4 separate regions of the Homo sapiens genome follow, and all the other regions are linked to region 2. Evidence: promoter capture Hi-C in 16 types of primary human blood cells and fetal thymus (Javierre and others, 2016). All regions are on one chromosome and are shown on one strand. Each heading gives the region's core, a stretch centred on a gene start or on the middle of the fragment in contact. The rest is flanking DNA. Distances are from core to core; before and after follow the strand shown.

Region 1 (3,217 bases), core at 522-3,021, 150 kb before region 2:
TGGTTTTGAAATGTGAGGACATGAGATTTGGAGGGGCCAGGGGTGGGATGATATGGTTTGGCTCTGTGTCCCCACCTAGATCTCATTTTGAATTGTACTCCCATAATTCCCACATGTTGTGGGAGGGACCTGGTGGGAGATAATTTGAATCATGGGGGCAGTTTTCCCTATACTGTTCCCATGGTAGTGAGTAAGTCTTACAAGACCTGATGGTTTTGTCAGGGGTTTCTGCTTTTGCATCTTCATCATTTTTCTGTTGCCACTGCCATGTAAGAAGTGCCTTTAACCTTCCACCATGATTCTGAGGCCTCCCCAGCCATGTGGAACTGCAAGTCCAACTATACCTCTTTTTCTTCCCAGTCTCAGGTATGTCTTTATCAGCAGCATGAAAACGGACTAATACACCTACATTAAAGGGCAGAGAAGAGGCCGTGCTGGTTCATCCATATAACTCATGGGATCATTAGGAGGTTCTTAAGGCTGGGTACAGGGGCTCATGCCTGTAATCCCAGCACTTTGCTGGGTGAAGGCAGGCAGACTCACCTGAGGTCAGGAGTTTGAGCCTGGCCATGGTGAAGCCTGCCTCTACTAAAAATACAAAAATTAGCCAGGCGTGGTGGGGCACACCTGTAATCCCAGCCATTCAGGAGGCTGAGGCATGAGAATCGCTTGAACCTGGGAGGTGGAGGTTGCAGTGAGCCAAGATCATGCCACTGCACTTCAGCCTGGGCAATAGAGCGAGACTCTGTCTCAAAAAAAAAAAAAAATTGTTCTTATGAAGCCTGAGGCTAGGAGAGAATTGGCCAGCAGGAGGCTGAGTTCCACCTTTCTCATTTCGTCATAAGCACGTTTAAAGCCAAGAAACAGCCTTGTGAACCGCCCAAACAGAACAGTGAGCTGTGAGGTTGGGTGTCGTTTGCAGGCTCCCCAGGACTGGCTGAGGATGCCTTGATGTGGCACTGATTAGAGATGATCCCAGAGACCACACAGATGTGAACAGGACTCCCCTCTTCCGTGGGGAACAGAAGTCCATGAGAGGCTGGGTCTGAAGGGCAGGGCGAGGGTAAAGGAGACAGGTTTGGCAGCAGCCTGGAGGGCTATAGGTGCTTTGCCCTGTGGCTTTAACATCAGATCCCCAAGTATCCCTGACCTGGGGGAGGAGCTGCCAACACAAAGTCCAGAAAGGGCAGGGCATATAGGTGGAAGCAGAAATGCCAATCAGGATGAGTGACAGGGATGAACCAAAGTTGGGTTCAATATTCTGGACCTGGGTGACTGGAGGAATCAAAGCATTCTAGAGTTAGAAGTGGCCTTAGAATATTTAATCTTGTGCCTAGGACTAGATATTGTGCTTCAGTGTCCCTGAGACCTCCTCCACCTCAAACTTGTGGCCTCCTGAAGGAAAGAAAAAGAGACAAACACTATCTAGGAAGCCCTGGGGTCCACCAGACTCCTCGGCAGCCACTCTCCCGACTGTGGCTCCCAGGAGAACCCAGTCTCATGGCCTAGCTGAGTAGCAGAGCACTGTGGAAAGGCTGTATGGTTGCTGCCCTGCCTCTTGCTGCTCTGTGACCCTGGGCTCGTGACTTCACCTTGCTGGGCCTTCTTTCACCAGTAAGCTGAAAATAAGCTTTGCTGCTAGGATATTAATTGGTGACATGAGATAAGGTTTGTAAAACACAGGGCACTTGCCTGACATCTACTTCCTCCTTGCCATCTGGAAGCCTCCAGTATAACACCTGCCTGAAGTCATAGCTGAAGTACAACATGTTTCTGACAATTAAATGTAACAGACATAATTTCTAGGGCACCCACTGCATTGGACAATGTGAGACAGATGGACTAAGTACAAGACATGGACCTCTACCTCTGAAAAAAGTAGCATCTTGGTTAAGCAAAAGACACACAAGCACAAGCTTTTTAAATTATGAAACTAATACAGCTACATGCAGAAGAATTATGAATCAAAAGGACTATTGGGATTTAGAAGGAGAGCTTAGCAGAGTTGGAGGGCTTCCTGGAGAAAATGGGCTCTGTGATAGACTCTGAAGTGCTGGTAAGGCATGGAAGGTGGGCAGCTTTTGCTGTGAGTTGTCCAGGAACAATGGCAAGAGCAAGGTGTGGGCAAGAGCAAGGTGTGGGCAAGAGCAAGGTGTGGGCAGGAGTGGATTCAGAGCCCCACTGGAATAGAGTTTTGAAGTCATGGATGAAGTGGGCGGAGAGAGGTCTGAAGAGGTTAGGAGGGCCAGGCAGTGGACTGGAGGTGCCACACCACCAGCAAAAGACCAAGGATTCTGTTCTAAGGGCCAACCAAGTCTGGAGGCACAGATTTCAGAGTGAGGGAGTCACATGATGAAAAAGGAATGGTGGAATAGAGGGGGATGTTGGATGGGAGGAGAATCTAGAACAATCAGGGTGAGTGACAGGGATGAAATGAAGTTAGGTCCAATATTCTGGGCCTGGGTGACTGGAGGAATCAAAGCATTCTAGAGCGTGAAGTGACCTTAGAAGATGTAATCTTGTATAGCCATTCAGAATAGGTTAATGCCTTTCCTGGGTCCACGGCAAGTTCTTCCTCTCTTAGTTCTCTCAAGAGCTGGTTGTTGAAAACAGCCTAGCGCCACCCCTTCCCCTGCCATTCTCTCCCTTCCTCTCTCACCATGTGATTTCTGCACATGCAGGCTCCCCTTTGTCTTCTGCCATGAGGGGAAGTAGCCTGAGGCCCTCATCAGTTGCAGATGCTGGGTTTCATGCTTCCTGTACAGCCTGCAGAATCATGAGCCAAATAAACCTCTTTTCTTCATAAATTACCCAGGCTTATGTATCCCTTTATAGCAACACAAATGGACTAAGACAGTACCCTCCCTATGGGGCAGTGTCCAGAGAGAAAAGGCCAGAAGACCAAAGACTGAACCTTGAGTCCTGGGAACAGGATCCAGGAGAAGGGGCAGTCAGAGGTGGGATGCAGCCCAGATGTGGTCATGGTGATCAAGGACGCAGTAGTGAAGGTGGTCAGTGCTGTCCACAGGCATGGTACTTGGCTGTGATCTCCCCAGCCCCACTGAAGCCTATTACAGATGGCTGCAAATTCTTTGACACCTCTCCCACTGAGATGGGGTGGGGGAATCTTTGCTTCCTCCATGTAAATCGGAGTAGGTTCTGTGACTAATGCCCCCCATAGAATAGAATGGAAGTTTAGCTGGGCATGGTAGTGCAT
Region 2 (3,287 bases), core at 51-2,550:
GCTGGGGTCTCTCGGCGGCCCCATCTCGGGAAGAGGAACTAACGATAACTACAGCACGAAGCACACCGGCCGAGTCTCCGGCGGGAAAGGCACCCGCGCGCGCGGACACAGGACGGACACAGGGAGGAGCGGAGCGGGTCACTTGGTCGCCACCCCCGAAGTGACGGCCGCGGCGGCGGCGGCAGCGGCGGCGGCGGCGGCGGCTGCGGTGGTCCCTGCGGGCACTGCGGCGGGGGTGGCTGCGGTGGTGCTGGCGGTGGTCCGGCGCTGTTCCATGCCGTTGGGCAGGAAGCCGGCGATGATGGGCACCGGCCAGATGAGGGCGGCCACGCTCCACACCACGATGACCAGGGTCATGAAGCAGGCCACCAGCGTGGACTCAATGGGCTTACGGTTCAGCCGCCAGCCCGGCTCGCCCTGCAGCTCCTCCAGGCTGAAGTCTAGGCAGCAGAAATGCAGCGGCTCGCCCTGCAGCCACAGCGGCCCGGGCGGCTCGGCCGCGGGGTAGGCTGGCAGCGCGGTGGGCGCCCCGGCGGTGGCGGCGGCGGCGCTGGGGGCGGCGGCGGGCCGGAGGCGGCCGGTGCGGCGACCGCGCACCCAGCCGCAGCCCACGCAGAGGCGCAGGTCCTGCTGCGCGCCGCCCGCCGCCAGCCCCAGGTGCTCGATGAGCAGCGGCGGCCCGACGCGGTGGAAGGCGGCGGCGAAGAAAGCGCGGCCGTGCGCGTTGGTGGAGAAGAGCAGTAGGTCGCACTGGAAGCCCCGCGGGCGGCCCCAGCGCACGAGCAGCGAGCTCAGCATCTGCCGCTGCACGCTGATGTTGCACGGCGCCGCCGCCGCCGCCGCCTCCTCCGGGCCCGGGCGCTCGGGGGGCCCGGGGGCCGCCGAGGCCAGCAGCCGCGGGGCGATGGGCTCGTCCGCGGAGGACGCGTTGACTGAAGCATTGGAGGGCACCCCGAGGAGGCCGGGCGCGTCCGCGGCCCCGCCGCGGACGGGCGGCAGCGGGCAGGCGGCGGCCAGGAGCGCGGCGAGCAGGGGCAGCATGGCCTGCGGCGGGCGCCTACGCGCGCGAGGCCGGCGGCGGTTGCATGGCGAGCGGGCGACGGGCCGGCGAGCTCACGGTGGGACCGCGGGAGCCGGCGGCCGGGCGCAGTGCGGGCGCGCCGGGCGCCTGCCAAGCCCGCAGGGGCGGCGCGGAGGCGGTGACGGCGGCTGGCTCGGCGCGGGGATCCCTCCAGACCCGGTTGCGTTTGGGGTTCCCCGCCGCCCCCGGCGCCGGGGCCCTTGGGCTGCCGCGCTGCTCTGCGGGGCCGGGTGCTATCCCAGAGCAGGATTCCCCGGCTCGGCTCCGCCTCCCGCGTGCCCCGCCCCGCCCCGCCCTCCGCTCGCCAGGCTCGGGGACTCAGGGGAGGGCGGGGTTCCACGCGCCGGGGCTGGGAGAGGAATCGCCGGGGCGGGGCTGGGTGCGGGGGCGCGGCGGAGAGCGGATCGCCCGGGGTGCGTGCGGGCGGGCGGGGAAGCCTGCGGACGCGCCCGGGCGCCCCCGCGCTCCGGGTGAATCGCGTTCTCAGAGGGAGGCTCCAGGGCCCGGAGACCATCCTTTTGTCAGGCCTGAGGGGAGCTTCGCTGTCTCGCCTTAGTGCTACCGAACCTCCTTTGTTTTACAGAAGGGGAAACTGAGGTCGAGAGAGGGGAAAGGGCCTCGCTAGGCCAACTCATGAGCCAGAAACAAGTCCGCGCCACTAGCTCTTTCTGCCTTTTTACGGTGTCTCTTACCTCAAATCTGTAGAGTTTGGCTGCTTTTTAATGGCTCCAACACAGCAGACTCACTTGGGATTCTCCTCGCAGCAAGCGAGGAAAATTCCAAGAACTCTGTGGAGTTTCGAGTGGAGAGTGACTGGCTGGGGGGAATGTGAGCCCTGAAGCTGTGCCGCCTGGGGGTCCCGAGGACACAGGTCCTGACAGGTCGAGTGAGCGCGTGTTCATGAAACAGTTGTAGGTTAGAACCCACGTCAAAGGGGCAGTTCATCCCCTTTGGGATATTATACGGGAGGAGGGCTACCAAGAATAACGTGTCAAGAGATCAGATTTATCACATTTATATTGAAAAGCACTTTCTTAGTAGTTCGGCCCCTCACACTTGGAAACAAACTTCAACGACCCTTCATCATTCCCATCGTTCTTTAGGGGACATTTATGTTGAATTATTATCTATTTTATTTTAGTTGGAAGCCCTTGTACTCCATGAGCACCAAGTATTCCTGATTCGGAGAGGGGAGGGGTGGAGGGAGCAGAGAAAGGCCTCAACAAAACCGCCTTCCTTCTAAACCAGCTAATCCTGAGAGGTCTGCCAAGAGTCCAGCTACATTGCTAGGCATCCTGGCTGATTACTTTTCTGGAAGCTTTTGTCCATTGTTTTCTAACAATGAGTAAAATGGGACTGAGAAAGTTGCAAAAACGCCTCAAAATAAAGCTCCCCAACTTATTCCACCTCTTGCCATCTAAGCAAGCCATTATTCTGACTTAGCCTTGGTTTCCCCATCTGAGTTGGGGGGTGGGTGGTACCTCCTCACAGGGCTGCTGTGATAATACTCCCAACCCAGTGTCTATCTGTCCCCAGATGTTCCCACATGGTGGTTGCTGTGATGTGGTTACTAACAGTGCTGCCCAAGTTGGCTGCCTAGAGTGGTCCTTGGTTTCTACAGAAATGGTTCATTTCCCCAAGGGGATGGGACTCCCTTTTCGTTTCAGCCTCCATCACTTTTGTGCTTGGAAGTGGTGCTACCAGGGAGAACAATGTGAATTTTCCTGCTTTTAATAAAAATGACTTCTCCTTTCAACCTTTGCATATCAGGAACAGAAGCTGCTCAGTGATGTGGCAGAACAGTTTTAATTTAAGCCATGTGTCTGGTGAACCCTGAAGAACAGGAATATCAAGTGATCCTGAGGGCTGAGGGAGGCCTAATCTTCAAGGGGTGCGTTTTGAGCCAGGCTGTTGCCTGTGACTGCAGATGACATTCTCTGGGGTTTCAGTCAGAGGCAGAGGCTTCCTGAGCTTTCCTGAGACACTCCTGGCTTTGTCTGTGCAGGGGGGAAGGCAGCAGCAAAGGGAAAAGACAAGAGATCTATTTGGGGAGCCAAGCAGTTCCCTGCAAAGTTGCGCCACTGAAGCTCTGCATCCTAGCAACCTGCATTCTGCCCACTTTTCCAGCAGGTGCCGTCCTGAGGACTCCGTCACCTCGCCCTCATTCAGAATGTAATTACCCTTCAAATAGTAACACAGATCCTAC
Region 3 (3,650 bases), core at 128-2,627, 240 kb after region 2:
CTCAGAGCCCTCAGCCTCCCTGCCAGGATTCTCCCTCATGCTGGGGCTGTCTCTTCTCTTGGCTACAGTAGATTCTGCTCCCAGTCCCAGGGATCTGGTTTTGACTCCCTGTCTCACAAAGCTAATTAATAGTTAAATTCTGCTCCTTCTTACATAATATCTCCTGCTTCTGTTTTCTGTTTTCCCTGCCTCTCCAGCGTCTTTTCTCTCCTAAGCTATTCTAAACTGAACTCTCTGCTTTTCTATCCTCCATCCTATGCTCTCAGCCCTCCTCAGCATGATTGCTGGCCAGAGTGGCCAGTGCCACAGGGACCAGGTGGAAGTTGTTACTGGGAGAGCCAGCCCCTCAGAAGTCCTTCTAGGGATGGGACTGGGCAGGGGTAGGAAGGGCACAGAGGCCACAGAAAAGTAGACAACTTGAGGCTGGCTTTTCCCTGTCACTTCCCAGGCAAGCAAAAAGCTGCCTGAATAGAGGGAGTAAAATCTTTAATAACAGCCCGGGGCCAAGGCGAGATGCTGGGAGGAGGCACCTGGCTGGCTCTCAGCAGGCCTGAGAGGGAACTTCCTCCAGGAAAGGTCCTCCAGGGGTTGGTACAGGGCTGGGCCTTCGCTCTGGGATTCAGAAACCAGTGGTGTTTCTAAATGGTACAGAGACAGTACAGGCCATCAGGTTTCCCTCCCTGAATGCAGGGCCTTCCTGCTGACCTCCCAGATGTCCCCCACCAATGCCTAGTCACATCTGTATGTAGTCTCTATTAGGTCAATTCTCTATCATCATCTCATTTCCCTTAGCCCTGACTTCTTGCGCACACTCCACTGTCCGTCCCTGTCAGGGAAATAAAGACAGGTATGCTTGGTACATGTACTCCAGATGTATGAGAATAAAAGAAAACTTCTGCAGTCTCTGGGTCAGCAACCTGCTCTGCAAAGAGAAAGGTTTTCATGTTTTGTTTCCAAGATGGAATGACTGCAAAGGAAAAATGGAAGAAATAATTTAATAGTATACTTCTTATGGTATATGGACAATGAAATACATTGTAAATTTGATCAGGAACCATAAAGATAGAAAAGCATTTTGTGTTCCTTTTGAACCCTGAGTGGCCTTTTTGAGCTCCTGTTTCTTGGGTGTACAGGTCTTCTTGAGGTGTCAGCCTGGACTCCATGGGAAGAGATGTATTTAGCCTCTTGTTGAGGGGTCTCAGGGATCGCTGCACAGGCCTGGTGAGTGTCACCAATGAACCTCTTCAGCTTGGAGAGTTATTTGAACTTCAAAGCTAGAAGAAACTTGAGAGAGCATTTAGCTCGGGTCTCTTTTTAATCCCTGCCCTGATCTGAAAAACATAAAAGCAAATAAACAGAAAACCCCTCATGCCTGCATTTACTGCTGCTTGAAATTGCAAAATCAATATGATGTCTGGAAACAAATTAAAATAAATGAATAAGGTGTTGCGTTATTTTGAGCGGCCCACATCATGTCCTTCTCACTCCTTCCCAGGGGGCTGATTGCCATCCTGAGGTGTGTGTCCCATCCTTGAAAATTGCTGACCCAGCCCACATCTTATTATATAATTGAGGTGCCAAGAGCAGGGAAGGGCCAGAACCCAACTTGGGTCTCCTCAGTCCCAGTCCTGCCTTCTTTTTTATTATTATTATTTGAGACCGAATCTCACTCTGTCTCCCAGGCTGGAGTGCAGTGGTACAATCTCGGCTCACTGCAACCTCCACCTCCCAGATTCAAGTGATTCTCCTGCTTCAGCCTCCTGAGTAGCTGGGATTACAGGCGCCTGCCACCATGCCCGGCTAATTTTTGTATTTTTAGTAGAGACGGGGTTTCACCTGCATTGTTTACCCCTGCTCTTGGGGACAGTTCCCAAGCAACTGAGTATTTCTGAGAATCATGTGCAGACAATAGCCAGTCAGCGTGTGTTGCAGGAAGGCAGCACATTAGCGATAGGAAATGCAGTAAGTACAGAATGGGCACAAATGGCCAGGTAATGGAAAGTGTGGTGATTAGAGGTTTTCTGTTTTGTTCTTGGTGGAATTGACTCATTGTCCTCTCTGTCTTGCTTTTGTCATTATTTACTCCAGTGCTCTGTCCTTACCCTGGGTTCTTCTGAGCCCAGCTGCAGAGAGACCAGTAAAGACCGATCCAATGGCTGCTGCTATGAAGGAAGCAAATAGTCATTAACAGATACATACATGTCAATACTGTGTTTTTCAAAATAACCATTCTCTTATGCAGAGAGACACTTTTCCACAGCACCTTTCCACTTCTCTGTGTATTTGCTTACTGCTACCAGATGGCTAGCTCTAAGTGTCAGATTTGCTCAAAATAGAGACAGTAGAGCTGTAATAAGTTGAAAACTCAGGTAAAATACATTCTGTAGTTTTAAAAGAGTATATTAACAACATGCTCTTAACTATGTAAAAGCATATATATAAACACACATACAAGATTTTATCAATCCTGACATGATTAGTTTTAAATTGAATGCTCCATTAAGAAAGAAAAATGCTCTCAATATATTGTAAGATACCACTGATTGTAAGACATGTCCCAGTGTCAGAGTTTTTGGGAAAATGTATGTCTTAGAGTGAATAGAAGATGCAATATAAGTAGGATGGAAAGATATAAAACAAAATATTAATAGTCATCTCCCTGGGTATTTTGACCAATTGTGGGTAATTGTTAATTTTCTTCTCTTCCAAATTTTCCATAAAAAGATTATTGCTGGGCAAGGTGGCTCATGCCTGTAATCTCAACAAGGTAGCCAAGGTGGGTAGATCGCTTGAGCCCAGGAGTTCAAGACCAGCCTGGGCAACTGGCAAACCTCATCTCTACAAGAAATACAAAAATTAACTGCATGTGGTGGTGTTCACCTATAGTATGCACCTACAGTCCCAGCTACTCAGGAGGCTGAGGTGGGAGGATCACTTGAGCCCCAGGAGGTCGAGGCTGCAGTGAGCCGAGATCACCCCACTGCACTTCAGCCTGGGCGACAGAGTGAGACACTGTCTCAAAAAAAAAAAGATTATTATCATTTTGATAATCATAAAATAAAACAGCATGATATCCGGGTTAGATCATCATTTATTTACACATCTTCTTTAGACCTGAGTGTCTTAGAAAGGGATGGTCTTATGTTCTTGCAAATATTCAATCTATAGGGAGGCTTCCAACTTGAAGGTAAGTGAGTAGAATGTCCCCTGGGATGGCTGTTACCATTTTGTTTTTTATGATTAGACCAATAAAAGCTTTCAGCCTTGCCCTCAAGACTCCCCTTTCCTGGAATAATAAGACCACTTTTCAGGCAAGGATAGTCAATGCCACAGATTAGGCTGAGGACAATTTTCAAGTTGTAGCTATTGGACTACTCCCTCCCTCTCCTGTGGAAGCCTCTCTCTTATCTTGTAGACCCAGGGGCAGGGAGGTGACATAGGTGGCTCTGAGAATCAGAAGCAATCTCATCAGACAGGTGGCTCTGTCATTAGGAGAGTTTGGCCTTCATCGTCTGCATTCTTACCAGTGTAGTGGTGACATTTGAGAACCTGTAGTCACCTTCTCTCCAAAGTTAGTGGAATTAGAATTGTTCTGCTGCTGAAAAGGTGGGTCAGAGGGGGAAAGAAAAGATGGATAAGTGTAACCTGAG
Region 4 (3,616 bases), core at 140-2,639, 220 kb after region 2:
ATATATTATGTGTTATATATTTACTAAAAGAATTTTGATATTATGAACAACTCAATAGAAAAATTGAGAAAAGAAAATATTGAACCTCTATCCCTTAGATTTAACAATTCTCATTATTTTCTCAAAATTATTTCACACACTTTTCTAAACCTCTAGTGGGTAAAGATTTTTTAAAAATAAAAAGATATATCCACAATGACCAAGTCTAGGAATATTTTTACCATACTACCTCCACCCCTTACCCACATCCCCTATCCCAGTTCATCTTGGGGACAACAGTGTAATAATTTGAATTTTGTGGTGAAACCTACATGAAGGAATCAAATTTGATTCAATGTCAGTAGTTCATATCTCTATCTAGTTTATTCTTCCTTCAACAACAATTTTGGGTGCCTCAATGTGCCAGGACCTGAGCATACTACAATGAGCAAAATGAAATAGACCAAACATAGCTCCTGCCCTGGGTTTTGTTAACAGTGGAAGTTTTTAAATTTCTTGTCTAGAAAACTGAGGAAAACAAGTTCTGTGCCATGCTAGCTGGAGGGGTAGCTGTGGAGGAAAAGATGATGGATGAGGATGAATTTGGAGGTTTTGGGGAGCAAGCCCATTGGCAGAGTGCTGGTTAGGTTCTTGAGTTGGTGAAGATCTTTGTGCACGACACCCCTGTAGACATCTGTGAAGCTGGAAGCCAGAGCAGGCTGCGTCGTATGCATGGCTCAGAAATTATGGCTCTTGTGTTGTGGAAGCTGGCCTAGGTGGACAGCTACAATGTGGGCAAAGCCCTTTGACTGGCTGGTGGTTCACTAGTTGCCTTGAAGTGGGAAGGTAGAGCCAATAGTCAGAGTTGTGTTATTTTCCTTTTAAAAGAATTGTTTTCTAATAGTTATTACTCTGCTGTTTTTATAAAACAGCACAAAAAAGGACTCAGGAGTCTTACATAAGAAAAATAGCCCACTGGGGGCACAGATGTTTACCTGACACCTTGCTTAGTTCCTACCACATACCCAAAGTCCGGGTTTGAAGCTGTCTCATTTATTCATCTTAAGGAAGACTGAATTGTTTGCACTTTTGGTAAAAGTACGCTTTCTATCAAAAGTTTATTACAAGGCGTGGTGGCACACACCTGTAGTCCCAGCTACTGGGGAGGCTGAGGAGGGAGGGTCATTTGAGCCCAGGAGTTCGAGACTACAGTGAGGCACAATCACACCACTGCACTTCAACCTTGGTGACAGAACAAGACTTCTGTCTCTTAAAAATAAAAAAGTCTGTTACAAACGGAGTCATTTGAAACATTCCCTCCCATCATTCATTTCTGCGTTAGTTTTTGAAGTTAAAGAGCACTAGAAAAGAAACGTGACAGTATAGAGGTTTTATGCTTATTTGACTTTATCAACTGTAAATTCTGTTTTTAAGAATTCTATAACAAATGTGTTTTTAGGACAGAAAGTAAATTTGGGGAACCTTTGATTTAGGCTTGGAAATATAAACCAAGTGGTTTCTTACTAAGTTTAATGTTTTTAATTGTTCTTCCTAAGTAAACAACAGCCTGATTCACATAATGGAATAAATGGAATATACGAGTCTAAAGGAGCCACTAGACCCCAGTTTTATGTGGAAACACAAGATGTATTTTCAAATGAGGATCATACTGAGGCAGGCAAATATTCCTCATGAATTTTGTGATTGCTTTCAAAATGAGCTACATTTGTGAATAAGCATCAGGCCCCCAGTGTATGTTTGTGCTGACAAAAATGTTAATACCCAATTTTGTACAATGTAATTCACTTGTTAGTGCCATAGATGAGTGGGCAGGAGGTGTGCAAAAGACTTGAAGTTGAGTTTCTCATTGAACATGCTCTCAGAAAGGTGTAGGTGGCATTTCAATAACATCTCTTTCCAGAATAAATTGTGACTCTCCTTACTTTACAAACTGGTGAAAATATTTTGAGCTGGTAAATATTTTTGTGATTTCATTACTTTTCAAAATTCAGTTGCAAGACTGAGCATGCATGGCTGGGGGGATGTTTATAATGGCCTGTACATTATTTTTCTTCTTTGTTGGCAGGAAATAACTACGTGTTTGCCAGATTACTACAAGTGGACTCAGTATCTCTTTATTAAACTGTATGAGGCTGGGCTGGCCTATCAAAAGGAGGTAAGTTAAAATTAGCTGGACTTTTAAAATTCAGTGAATCTCTTTAGGATACATCATTGTAGTAGCAGCGAAAATGAACGCTACCTCAAGTTCATAAAATCAGTCACAGCAGACCCAGAACGTAACTACTTCCTACTTAAGTTTAGTGTCATCAAGACAGGGTCTGGGCTTCTTTTACCCTTGAATTCTTACCCCATAACCTATTGTCTGGTTCCTGTAATGAGATCAAGGAGAGGGCATAAGAAGAAAGAACACAGGCTTCTCAAATCCTAGCTCAGCTCCCTCTCCCAGCTATGTGAACATCTGGGTAACTTAACCTCTAGGAAACATGGTTTTGTATCTGCTAAATGGGAATGGGGACATTTTCCTTGTGGGGTACTATGGTTTGGATGTCCCCTCCAAAACTCATGTTGAAATTTAATTGCCATTGTGATGGATTTAAGAAGAGGGACCTTTAAGAAGTGAGTGGGTCACGACAGCCCTGTCCTAATAAATGGATTAATGTTATTATTGTGGGAATGAGCTCCCAATAAAAGGATGAGTTCAGCCAAATTCTCTGTGTGTGTGTGTCATACGGTCACTTGCTGTTCTACTTACTGCCATGGGATAATGCAGCACAGAGGCCCTTGCAGATGTTGGCACCATGCTCTTGGACTTCCTGACCTCCAGAATCAGCCAAATAAACTTCTATCAATAAATTACCCAGTCTGTGGTATTCTATTACAGTAGCAGAAAATGGAGGAAGACACAGGGTTCTTGGAAAGATTAAAGGTAATAGTTAAAGAACAGCTATCACAGTGGTCTCCCGAGAAATGAAAGTGTTTGTTATGGTGGGAGCTCAATAATGATAGGTAAGACTTGGAATGGTGGGAGATGAGGCAAGAGCATCATAGTGTGGCCTAGAACTGTCCAGGATGATAGCCACTAGCCACATGTGGTTGCTTAAATTTAAAGTAATTAAAATTAAATAGTATTTAAAAAGTCAGAGCTGGGACAGTGGCTCACACCTGTAATCTCAGCACTTTGGGAGATTGATGCAGGAGGATTGCTTGATGCCAGGAGTTCAAGACTAGCCTGGGAAACACAGTGAGACCCTGTCTCTACAAAAAGTAGGAAAAAATTAGTCCCAGTTACTCAAGACGGTGAGGTAAGAGGATCCCTTGAGCCCATCAACCTACTGGGGTAAGGCAAAAGGAAGAGGAAAGAACTGAGGTAAAAAATAGTGTTCTATTCCATAACAAATATTGGCTTTTTGACTAAAACGAGATAGTGTTTATGAGGAAAAGACCAAAACACATGACCAGATGGAGAAAACCACACTAGGCTGCTCCCAGTCAGCTCTGGCTGGTAGGGCCTGCTAGGTTGCCTCCACCCCCACACTGCTGTTTGGTCAGGATTTAGTCTTGGTTTTTTTCCAGGTGGATCTCTGTCTTAGTTGGTTTGTACTGCTACAGTAGTGCC

The links. Contacts are between HindIII fragments. The CHiCAGO score rates a contact against its expected background, and 5 or more counts as called.
Region 1: a fragment that was not itself captured here is called in contact with the fragment with the promoter of TMEM158 in region 2 in 6 of 17 cell types (naive CD4 T cells, total CD8 T cells, total CD4 T cells and 3 more); the score reaches 6.2 in naive CD4 T cells.
Region 3: a contact is called between a fragment that was not itself captured here and the fragment with the promoter of TMEM158 in region 2, in 4 of 17 cell types (M1 macrophages, M0 macrophages, M2 macrophages and 1 more). The highest score is 13.3, in M1 macrophages.
Region 4: a contact is called between a fragment that was not itself captured here and the fragment with the promoter of TMEM158 in region 2, in 3 of 17 cell types (M1 macrophages, M2 macrophages and M0 macrophages). The highest score is 6.2, in M1 macrophages.

What each region holds. Positions count from the first base shown.
Region 1 is chr3:45,078,244-45,081,460 of GRCh38, forward strand. The region is part of intron 1 of LOC124906233 (a long non-coding RNA gene); the gene reads left to right. Among named protein-coding and RNA genes, the nearest start is that of CLEC3B, 54 kb to the left of the region's middle. The HindIII fragment of the contact is 286 bases long and covers 1,629-1,914 here.
Region 2 is chr3:45,224,987-45,228,273 of GRCh38, forward strand. It overlaps TMEM158 (transmembrane protein 158), which reads right to left and starts at 1,301. Exons shown (of 1, transcript NM_015444.3): 1 at 1-1,301. The coding sequence starts at 1,041. The coding sequence ends at 139. RefSeq lists silencers at 1,128-1,197, 1,208-1,547. The HindIII fragment of the contact is 4,918 bases long and covers 1-2,397 here.
Region 3 is chr3:45,465,080-45,468,729 of GRCh38, forward strand. All of the region lies in intron 8 of LARS2 (leucyl-tRNA synthetase 2, mitochondrial), which reads left to right. Among named protein-coding and RNA genes, the nearest start is that of LARS2-AS1, 43 kb to the right of the region's middle. The HindIII fragment of the contact is 3,752 bases long and covers 1-3,253 here.
Region 4 is chr3:45,444,826-45,448,441 of GRCh38, forward strand. It overlaps LARS2 (leucyl-tRNA synthetase 2, mitochondrial), which reads left to right. Exons shown (of 22, transcript NM_015340.4): 7 at 2,066-2,155. Among named protein-coding and RNA genes, the nearest start is that of LARS2, 58 kb to the left of the region's middle. The HindIII fragment of the contact is 5,856 bases long and covers 1-3,616 here.